Linked DNA regions of Homo sapiens: regions 1 and 3 are each linked to region 2. The links are contacts of gene promoters, found by promoter capture Hi-C in blood cells and fetal thymus (Javierre and others, 2016). All regions are on one chromosome and are shown on one strand. Each heading gives the region's core, a stretch centred on a gene start or on the middle of the fragment in contact. The rest is flanking DNA. Distances are from core to core; before and after follow the strand shown. Region 1 has its middle 170 kb from the start of ADRA1A. Region 2 holds the start of CLU (clusterin). Region 3 has its middle 160 kb from the start of DPYSL2.

Region 1 (3,493 bases), core at 642-3,141, 920 kb after region 2:
ATTCACCCCAGAGAGACTCTATGAACATAGAGGAAAGCCACCCGAGAGCAAATGTGGCCCAGTCTGTATCATTAAATCTAATCAGCCCTTACCAAGCTGAGAGAGCGTAGAGAGAAACTCTGAACTCTCCTCCAACAGTTAATATTTATTAATGAGCCCCCAACTCCAGTTCTCACAAACTAAGTGCTGTCAGAGGTGTAAGTGTCAGTAAAGCAGACAAAAATTACTATAATATTTTGTTGCACTTCAGCCATAAGCATAGTCACCAAGCACAGACACTTCCAAACGTTGATTTCACAGAGCTTCAAGTTGAAAGGAATCCATTTCAGGTGTCCCATGGAGGTGTACTTTCTATGAGGAAGGCAGGGGCTTTTGGCTGAAGAAATGGAGGAGTTTGTTGGTGCACTCCAACTTGAACGCATCCCTGACTTCCACAAATATGCACAGAAGCTTCTAAATATTTATCTGGATTTCTAGAACTGGAATTTAAGTTCTACTTGAAAGTCCTAGCGATCCACAGAAGCAAGCAATCCAATAGTAGCCGTTTGATTTTTTTAATATCAAAATAATAATAGTTAGCAAACAAACTCATTGTACTTAAAAGCTGGCTACAGTGAGCATTCAGAGGAGCTTCTAAATGGGATCTCATGCCATCAAAAACTAGAAGCAAAGCTCTGAACCCTTTGCAGTCCTCCCTAAAGTGTCAAGGAATCCACACCATCAATTCCTTGTATTTTCACATACTGCCAAAAAATGTCACAAGACTATGAATTTTCTAGCAGGGGAAAGAAAAGGCCTCCTGTAGCATTGAAAATGTCTTCTTGAGACTCCATTAAGCAAAGACCAACACTCACTGTGTTTCCTGTGAACACACCTGTGTTAATCATACGGTTTGTTGAGTGAAATGGAGTTAGCTGACATATAACTACATTTTCCTAACTGTATCACTTTCTGACAGATGGTTACAAACTTCACTTTCACTGTCTAGGAAGTGAATTAAGCAATAGAGCTTGTATGACTTGTATGAGCTTGTATGAACTAGAGTTCTGTAAAATTCTTATAAACAAGCTGAGGTTTGCAATAGGCTTCTCAAATGCTTCCAACCTGACCGCATTAATGCAATAGCACATTTTGAGGGGTGAAGTGTCTCGGTTCTCCTTGACATTGCAAAGAATTCTTACCTTTGCCTACAGGAAGTCCAATTTTAACTAATAAACTGGTAAGAATTTGCTATGTATAAGTTTTTAGCAAGAAAATGTATTTATTAGAGATTTAACAAGTATAGACAGAAGTATACAAATATTACTGTCAGATATGAGGACTGAAATCAACATGTTGACACCAATGGCTTTCCATTTTCCTTTAATCAAGAGATCTACTTTTTGTTTTCATTTTGTTGTTGTTGTTTTTATTTTGAGCCTCATAGCAGGTGCAAGTAAGGCATTAACAGCCCTGGACACCCAGCATTCAAAGAAGCCTTCAATGTGTTGGCCTGCACTGTTTAGGGCCAGCTTCAAAGCTTCTCCAAAGCTTTGCAAAGTACACACCAGCTACTCCATTCAAGTCTCCTTAAAAAATTGTTTTCAAAGTTCTGTGGCCTCTCAAATGAAGACATTGACATATTTTGTTTGTCCAACAGCCCTAACTAAGGTGAGCCTTCAAAGAAGCCTCTAGATGTTGTTCTCGCCGGCCAGGCAGAGAGCACAGGTGCAGGAGGTGGCTCACTCAGTCCTCATGGGACCTCCAAGAAATTCACTTTCATTCACCCTGTGAGGCATTTCTGTAAATTGGACTTATAAACGCAAAACATATATAAGGCAGTAAAACAAAGGATTACCATGCTACTCGATTAGTCGTCAGCCAGCAGCCTCGTGGACTCCAACTAAGACTCCCCGGCCTTTTTCTCTTGGCCAAGGAATAGAATGCAAATTGTGCTCCTCTAAACTTTGCAACGTGTGTAGGAGTAAACTGTAGGGATGGTGGACCAAGGGGGAGAGGACACAGCATGAGACAGGGCTAAGTGTACTAAGTACTAAGTACTAAGTAGCCCTAAGTAGTACTAAGACCCCTATCAGTACATAGGGGTCAAACCGCTGGACATGTGGGATTGAACATGTTAGCTACTGTAATTGAGATTAGTTCTAATGGTCTGCTTGGCTGGGAGATTATAACTTAGTGGTAGCCTATATTCACCAAGGTTGGGATTCCAGAACTTTCCTGGTATAATGTAAAGGACAGAGTTCAAAAGCTTATGGATATGGTAATGTTGGGCTGGATTTATCATACGCAACCTGTACACCAAGCCTCACCCCTTCTTCATCCCCGAAGAGGGCATTCTCTTGACTACGACCTTGAGAATCATAGCAGTGGGCAAAGCAGCAGTGTCCTAGCAAAGCTCTCTGGGGCCCATCTCCCGGATCCCAGTGTGACCCTGTAGGATGCCTCTACTGAGATGGGCTCCCTGATTTCAGGGAGGAAGATGACCAACAGAGGCCAAAGGCAGCACTTAACTGTCAGAGACAAGGTGGGCACATCTAGAGTGACGAGCAGCAGGAGCGACTTGGTGAATGGGATCCGCACAGATCTTTGGTACAAGGTGGCTCATGTATCACAGTGTCCCTGGGAATGCAGTGCATGGACAGCCTACTAACATAGCTCTTGGTCTGCAGAGTCGCCACAATGGGGAGTCTTGCATCACTCCAATGGAAAAACTTTCCTCCAGTTTCTAGACACAAGCCCTTTCACAGACCCTTCATTGAAGAGACCAAGTCACCTTAAGGAAGGCCCCTGCAACCCTGTCACAAGTATGTGCTGCTCCTTGCCTTCTCCCAAAGGGTATGCAACCTTAAGAAATGGTGATCATGCACTAGAAAGAAGAATCTCTGGACCTTTTGTGCATTACAAGACCCTAGCTTGGAACTGATGCTTGCTCCCAGGGACCCAAAACATCCATGTGATCTACTAGTCAAAGTGGGAGGAATGGTCTAATAGTCAGCTGACAAATGGAGTTTTAGCTCAAGTCCAAATCACAGCAGGCCCAGTAGGTACAAGGACATCCCTACTATCACTTCTCCATGTCCCGGATGCACAGAGTCACCACACTCAATGTGGTATGAGGAATGCCCACGTTGGCTCTCTGATCCCTACGATGAGCACTACTTTCTATCTTAGCAGAAAGGCCTTGGAACATCCCCTCTGCTAGGATAGAAACCCAGAGCTTTACTATATCCCTAGGAGAATCTGCAGAAATTAAGGCCACCATCAAAGACTCGAAGGAAGAAGTGGTGATACTTATCACTTTGCTCATTTTACAGATCTGTTGAGTCTGTCAGGAGCAGATGGATCTTGGAGAACATGGATTATTGTAAACCTAAGCAGATGCTGCCTTCTCTTGCAGCTGCTGCTCCAGATGCCAACACTTTCCTGGAGCAAATCAGCACAACTCATTGCATCTGGTGTGTAGCACCCAATGTGCCAGGTGCTTAGTTCTCTT
Region 2 (3,635 bases), core at 568-3,067:
AATCATGCTATTTTCTCCCAAGTCCTTTCTTCCTCTCTTCCCTTCCCCTAATTCAGCTGGCTAAGGCGGATCTCACTGACTGACCTCCAAAGTCTAATTTTTAAAAATATAACTAGATTTATGCCTTCTGTTCCGGATGCTGAGGGAGCTACAGAACAGAAAAGTTACAAGGAGCGAGCTCAAAAACAATTCTTCTAACCTCAGGTATTGATAAGGAGCAGGCACTGATAAGGAGCAGGCACTGTCCACAGAAAATGTAGCTGTTACTGATAATTAGACATTTTTTTTTTAAGAAAAATAAAGTGTAGCCTCTTCTGGGACATTTTTTTCTTCTTCTGGGTTAATGGCCTTCTAATACTTGGCTTGGCTCTAGGTTAGGTTGCAGGGAGCCGTGGAGATGATCCATTCCCGATTCCTCATCGTCCAGATGGAAGAAACTGAGGCCCAAGGGCAAAGTGATTAGTCCGAGGTCACCCAGTGTCTAGGGGCACACCTAGGACTGTAATCAGACTTTCATGGACCTGGTCTGGGTTCTCCCACTTAGTCATGGGCCTTGAAGATTCCCCGAGGCTGCCTCCTGAAAAGGACTGGGGTCCTAGTGGCCCCTGGACGTTGGGCAAGCAAGGGACTGGGCCTCCATGTTGTGCCTCCATAGTCCTGATCCTGAACTGGAAAACTCAGCCCCTGACCACGCAGCTCTCCTTTAAGCCCCTTTGTTTCACATGGTTTTCAAAGTCTGCCACCCACAGTGGGGCTGCCTGTACCCGCCCTGTCCACCCATTGCCCCAGCTGTCAGCCCCTTGACTTCTCTCCTGGGGCTTAAACATCCCTGGCTCCAAAATGGGCAGCTCACTTTCTTCCCCAAGAAGTAGCTGCACCTCCAGGGTTCCTAGATTTGCCCCTCCTTGCCAGGGGGAGGGGTGGCTGCGACAGGAGATTCTCCCTGCTCTCAGCAGAAGGAACTCCAGCAGTTGGAGACCAGCAAACCCCTCTGGACACAGATCTGATTTCCTAACTGGGAAGGCTCAGGGCAAAATAAAAATTCAGGTCCACTGGTTCAAAAACTATGAAGAATTTCAAGACCGTCACAGTAGCCCATTAAACCAAACGTGGATCTGCAAGGGTCCCACAGCCATGAAGCCCACCCTGCTTGGTTGGGTTCCAAAAAGATGGGGACAGTGATTGCTTAAGCTCTGTGGATCAAGGACCCCGGAGAGGCCTTCTGGCTCTCCACATATCTGCTCTGATCACTCCTAAACACAATTCTGTTTCCTCCAGGCCTGGCGGGTCAGTCCAGGGACCCCCATCAGTGTGATGTTTCCAGGAGTAGGCGTTTCAATACTTCCTGTGCTCTCTTCTCCAGCACAAGGCCCCTCTCCATCCCACCCTCATTATGTCTGACTCTTTACTATTTAAATGGGTCAAGAGAAGTGGCGCTTGTGTAATGTGAAGGTTAAGGTCAGTAGGGCCAGGGAACTGTGAGATTGTGTCTTGGACTGGGACAGACAGCCGGGCTAACCGCGTGAGAGGGGCTCCCAGATGGGCACGCGAGTTCAGGCTCTTCCCTACTGGAAGCGCCGAGCGGCCGCACCTCAGGGTCTCTCCTGGAGCCAGCACAGCTATTCGTGGTGATGATGCGCCCCCCGGCGCCCCCAGCCCGGTGCTGCACCGGCCCCCACCTCCCGGCTTCCAGAAAGCTCCCCTTGCTTTCCGCGGCATTCTTTGGGCGTGAGTCATGCAGGTTTGCAGCCAGCCCCAAAGGGGGTGTGTGCGCGAGCAGAGCGCTATAAATACGGCGCCTCCCAGTGCCCACAACGCGGCGTCGCCAGGAGGAGCGCGCGGGCACAGGGTGCCGCTGACCGGTGAGATGTCCCCGTCTTCCCTACCCTTGAGCAGAGCCACACCAGGACGGATGGGCGGGCAGGGGATGGCAGCCAGGCAGAGAGGGATGACACAGCTCGCAGTCACAACCCCTGCGCTTTCGACGGAGCCCAGGAAGCCAGGGAGGGGAGGTGGCCGGAGCCCCATCACCAGGCAGCTGAGCCAGGGGCCCCGGCGCAACCGCCGCCTGAGAGCACGAGCTCCAACCACAATTCTGTGGTGGGGGGGTAAATAGAACAGATATAATGATCATCCTTTCGCAAAGATGGGGAAACTGAGACCTGGAGACCTGCCGCGTTGCGGGAGACCCAGGCTAGCAGGTGACAGAGCTGGCCTGCACCGAGCTCCTTCCTGCAGCATATCCTCTGCGAAGATGCGGATCTCTCAGTTGTGGCTTTCGGCTTGCATGCATGAGTCATCTAGTTTTCTTCTAAATTCTCTAGCTCTCTGGACACTGTTGCCTGTAAGTATGAGGCTGCGGATTTCAGTATATGCTGCAACCACCGAAATCCGACTTTTTCTGCCTCCTAATGCATCTGAGGTGCATCAGAGAAAAGTCACACAAGATCCACCAGGCCTCAGACCTCTGATTCCACAGTCTCATTTTACAGATGATAATCTGAGGCCTGGAGAGGTTTAGGACTGGTGCCAACACTAAACAGCAAATAAGTATCAGAATTGGGATTCGAGCCAAAGCCTCTTGACCTTCCAGAATTTCTGGACCTAGTTAAAAAAAATATGATTTTTATTATTATTTTTTAAACGGAGAGGTTAGGAATTTAAAGGAAAGTACAGATACTATATAAAAAAAGATGCCCATGAAAATGTTAAGTTATAATAATAGTGGAGCATTGGGCACAACTGAAATGGCCAATCTTGTGAGAATGGTAAAATAAACTTAGGTCCGTGAGTAAGTGGAGTATTACATAGCCATAAAAGTATGCCCTTAAAGAATATTTGAAGATGGTGAATGTGAAGAATCTTGTATAAACTGCATGGAAGACAGAAGGAAATATACCACAGTGCTAACCTTTGCCTCTGGGTGATATGAATTACCGGTGATTATTTTTCTTATTTTCCTTTTGGTTTAGTTTTCTCCATTTGAAGAAGCAGATAGGAGCCGGGGCTTTGGGATTGAAACCCTCACCATCTGTGTGCCCTCTTCACTGTCTTCCCATCCTCCCCACGGCTCCCTGTTCACAGTCATTGATTTTCTTTCTTTCTTTTCTCTCTTTTTTTTTTTTTTTCCTGAGACCAAGTCTCACTCTGTTGCCCAGGCTGGAGTAGAGTAGCGCCATCTCGGCTCACTGCAACCTCCGCCATCCGGGTTCAAGCAGTTCTCATGCCTCAGCCTCTGAGTAGCTGGGACTACAGGCGCATGCTGCTACATCCGGCTAATTTTTGTATTTTTAGTAGAGACATGGTTTCACCACCTTGGCCAGGCTGGTCTCGAACTCCTGATCTCAAGTAATCCGCCTGTCTTGGCCTCCCAAAGTGCTGGGGTGACAGGTGTGAATCAATGCGCCCTGCCAGGTCATTGATTTTCTTAAGCCTCCAGCCCTGCCCTGCTTGGAAACGTTTTGGGAAGCTGCTCAGTTCAAAGTTCCCAGGAGGGTGTGCCTGGAGGGGAGTTGCTCCCAAAGTCTGCCTGCTCCCCCCGCCCCCCCTGCCCCCCACCCCCCGCCATCTTCTCCTCCTCCTCTTCCCCTGAGCAGCCCCTTTGTCCACAGAACCGGCCTTTTCTGGTAGAAGGA
Region 3 (3,607 bases), core at 614-3,113, 940 kb after region 2:
GGAGGCCGAGGCGGGCAGATCACCTGAGGTCTGGAGTTCGAGACCAGCCTGACCAACATGGAGAAACCCTGTCTCAGCTAAAAATATAAAATTAGCCGGGCTTGGTGGCACATGCCTGTAATCCCTACTCAGGAGGCTGAGGCATAAGAATCACTTGAACCCAGGAGGCAGAGGTTGTGGTGAGCAGAGATCACGCCATTGCATTCCAGCCAGGGCAACAGGAGTGAAGCTCTGTCTCAAAAAAAAAAAGAAAGGAAGAAAAGAAACAGGCAACAGGAATTGACTTGCCCGTAAAGAAGAACATCTTGGCTGGGTGATGACAAGGTGCTCGTCTTAACATGGATAACTGGATGTTTATCGCAGGAATTTCATGCACCTTGGTGCATGCTGGTCCTGCTTGTCTCAAGGCAGGGATTCTCTTGCATAGATGGGATACTCTGTTCCCATCAGCCTCCTGCTTGCTCCGGGACAGGGATTCTCCTGCATAGATGGGATGCTCTGCTCCCATCAGCCTCTCTCAGTTTTACTCACGTTGTGACAGTGTCAAGTTCTCTAGTCCTGACTAAGAAGGGTTTAATTTCTTCTGTTGCTGGTAAAGATGTAGCCAGGGGCTTCTGTCTTGGTCAAAGTATTGCTTAGATCAATTACATAAAGCTATACCTGATCAATCCTGTGTTTATCTCCCTGGTGAAAGAAAACCCTAAGTCAGGCCGGGCGCAGTGGCTTACACCTGTAATCCCAGCACTTTGGGAGGCCGAGGCGGGTGGATCACCTGAAGTCAGGAGTTCGAGACCAGCCTGGCCAATGTAGTGAAACCCCTTCTCTACTAAAAATACAAAAAATTAGCCAGGCATGTTTGGGGGACACCTGTAATCCCAGCTACTTGGGAGGCTGAGGCAGGAGAATCACTTGAACCCAGGAGGCAGAGGTTGCAGTGAGCCAAGATCGTGCCAGTGCCCTCCAGCCTGGATGACAGAGTGAGACGAAAGAAAGAAAGAGAGAGAGAGAGAGGGAGGGAGAGAGGGAGAGAGAAGAAGAAGAAGGAGGAGGAGGAGGAAGAGGAGGAAGAGGAGGAGGAGGAGGGGAGGGAGGAGGAGGGGAGGGAGGAAGGGAGGGAGGGAACACAGAGGAAGCACATGTTTCCTTGTAATTGGTGTCAAGGGGCTCTATTACTTTAAGGAAGCCTCTCCCACATGTCAAGTATTTAACTCTCCTCCACTCTTTACACATAAAACAAACCAAACATTCCCTTAATTACACGTATTTATAATCTAATTATGGTTCTGGGCTCAGACAGTTTTATGGGCAAGTCTTTTTAAGCTTTCAAACAGATAATTTTTATGTTATATAAACTATTCTGCAGCCCACAAACATGGAAACAATCCTAATTAATTTAAGAAGCCACCCTAGCCTTAAGTGTCAAAGCCTGACAAAACTAACATACACATTCAAAAACCCTTTGACCTGTCTCAACTATAGATATTGATCTAACATTCTAAATACAACTCTACACAAATTGATATCAGCTTCATTAGAAAATAATATCCATGAATTAATATCATTTGTCACTTCAGTAGTGGCAAATGAAAACCACAAGTTCATCCCATTAAGATTTGTTAAAATGTGGTACCTGCTCTTTAAAAAAAGGACTTACTAAAATAGGAATGTAATAATACTTTTACAAATAAAAAGTATCTATGTGACCACAAAAGCTAGAAATGTATCTAGTACCTACTAGATACTAGCCATATCTACATATTTCTCTAAATGTATCCCAAATAATTTTAGTTCTGAAGGATTTTATAAGTGTCACGTAAAAAAATGATGCTATGATAAAATAAATTTGAGAAATAATTAACCAAATTAAACAAGATTTCATATATGTATTCTAACTCCCCAAGTGCTTCATACCCATTTGACCTATATCACATTGTTTCCACAGAGCATCTCCCCAGACTGGCATTTTATAGAAATTTGCTTTGGAATATGTTACAGGGATGGTCTCCCAACAATGTGGAAAACCAAATAATGATGCTGCTGGCTCCACTTTGACACTGTCCTAAAATTTCAGATCCAGTCATTCTCAGCTAATAGGCTGGTATGGCTTGATATAACAAGTAGATGAATAATCACTGTGGACATTAGGATATTTCAAGAACTCCATCAACCAACTTGGCCTACCGACATTTATAGAACCCTCCATTCCCTCTCAGCAGAATACTCATTTTTCTCAAGTGCATTTGGAACATTTTTCAAGATGGATCATATTTAGGCTCATAAAATATGTCTCCATAAATTTAAGGTTATTTAAGTTCACACCATGTAAGTTCTCTAACTACAATGACTTTAAGTTAGAAGTCAGTAACAGAAAAATCTCTGGATCATTCCCAAATACTTCGAAGCTTAATAGCATATTCCTCAATAACTCATGGGTAAAAAGAAAATGAATACGGTAACTTCAGTGAAACTTATAGCACTAAATGCCTTCATTGGAAAAGAAAAAATACATCAGATTCCACTTCAGAAAACTAGAAAAAGGAGAGCAAATTAAATTCGTCCTAAATAGAAGAAAAGAAATTATGAAAATCAGAGTGAAGTATCAATTAAATGCAAAACAGTAAAACAATAGAGAAAATCAACTAAACTATTAGCTAGTTTTTTCAGATCAATGAAATTGATAAACTAACCATTGTGATAAGGAGAAAAAGGGAGATGATGCAAATTACTAACATTGGGAAAGAGAGGATGACATCACTGAAAATTCTATTAATATTAAGAAGATAATAAGGAAATATGATTAACAATTCTATGCCAATAAATTCAACAACTCAGACGAAATGGACAAATTCCATGGAAGACACAAACTACCAAAGCTTACTCAAGAAGAAACAGATAAACTAAATAGCCCTATGCCTATTAAAGAAATTGAATTTGTAGTTTAAAAACATTCCCACAGAGAGAACTCTAGGTCCAAATGGTTTCAATGGTCAATTCAACCAGTCAAGCAGTTAAGGAGGAAATAATACATTGAATACATTCTTGCATTAAATTAAAAAAGAAAGAACACATCCCAAATCATTATAGGAAGCCAATATTATGCTGATACTTTACTTTTTAAATATGTTCTTACATTTAACATACATTACTTTTCTTTTGTTTTAAATCGTTATTTTAAAAAGCTTGTTTGGTCTATGTTCCATTCACCTAAGGTGCTAAGTCTTAATTAGTACAGATAAATGAATCAGCATGAATAGTATATAGGCAGCTAATATATTACCTATTTCGGGTATCATAATACCTGTAATCCCAGCTACTCAGGAGGCTGAGGCAGGGGGATCCCTTGAGTCCTTGTGGTTTATAGTTCATCACAACACTGATCAGATGAAATAACACAAATGCAGTGACAGTGCTGAGCCTCATTCCCCATACATCCAGTGTGATACGAAAGCCAGGCTTGGGTACGAGAGCCAAATTCAGGGACAGGAGGGAAGGAGATAAAGAATGGTCACAAATTTGACCAGTCACTGGTAATTTACAGTGCCTCTGTTGACAGAGAGAGAGAGAAAGGGAGAGAAAGAAAGAGAGAGAGAGTAACTACAGGATTTTA

What was found. The method cuts DNA at HindIII sites, captures the fragments that hold promoters and counts their contacts. A CHiCAGO score of 5 or more calls a contact.
Region 1: a contact is called between a fragment that was not itself captured here and the fragment with the promoter of CLU in region 2, in 2 of 17 cell types (naive B cells and M0 macrophages). The highest score is 6.6, in naive B cells.
Region 3: a contact is called between a fragment that was not itself captured here and the fragment with the promoter of CLU in region 2, in 1 of 17 cell types (neutrophils). The highest score is 5.4, in neutrophils.

What each region holds. Positions count from the first base shown.
Region 1 is chr8:26,696,275-26,699,767 of GRCh38, reverse strand. No RefSeq gene overlaps it. Among named protein-coding and RNA genes, the nearest start is that of ADRA1A, 170 kb to the left of the region's middle. The HindIII fragment of the contact is 718 bases long and covers 1,533-2,250 here.
Region 2 is chr8:27,612,882-27,616,516 of GRCh38, reverse strand. CLU (clusterin) reads left to right here and starts at 1,817. Exons shown (of 9, transcript NM_001831.4): 1 at 1,817-1,862. RefSeq lists enhancers at 229-729, 1,686-2,185 and silencers at 1,574-1,663, 3,219-3,404. The HindIII fragment of the contact is 8,616 bases long and covers 1-3,635 here.
Region 3 is chr8:26,671,400-26,675,006 of GRCh38, reverse strand. No RefSeq gene overlaps it. Among named protein-coding and RNA genes, the nearest start is that of DPYSL2, 160 kb to the right of the region's middle. The HindIII fragment of the contact is 1,082 bases long and covers 1,323-2,404 here.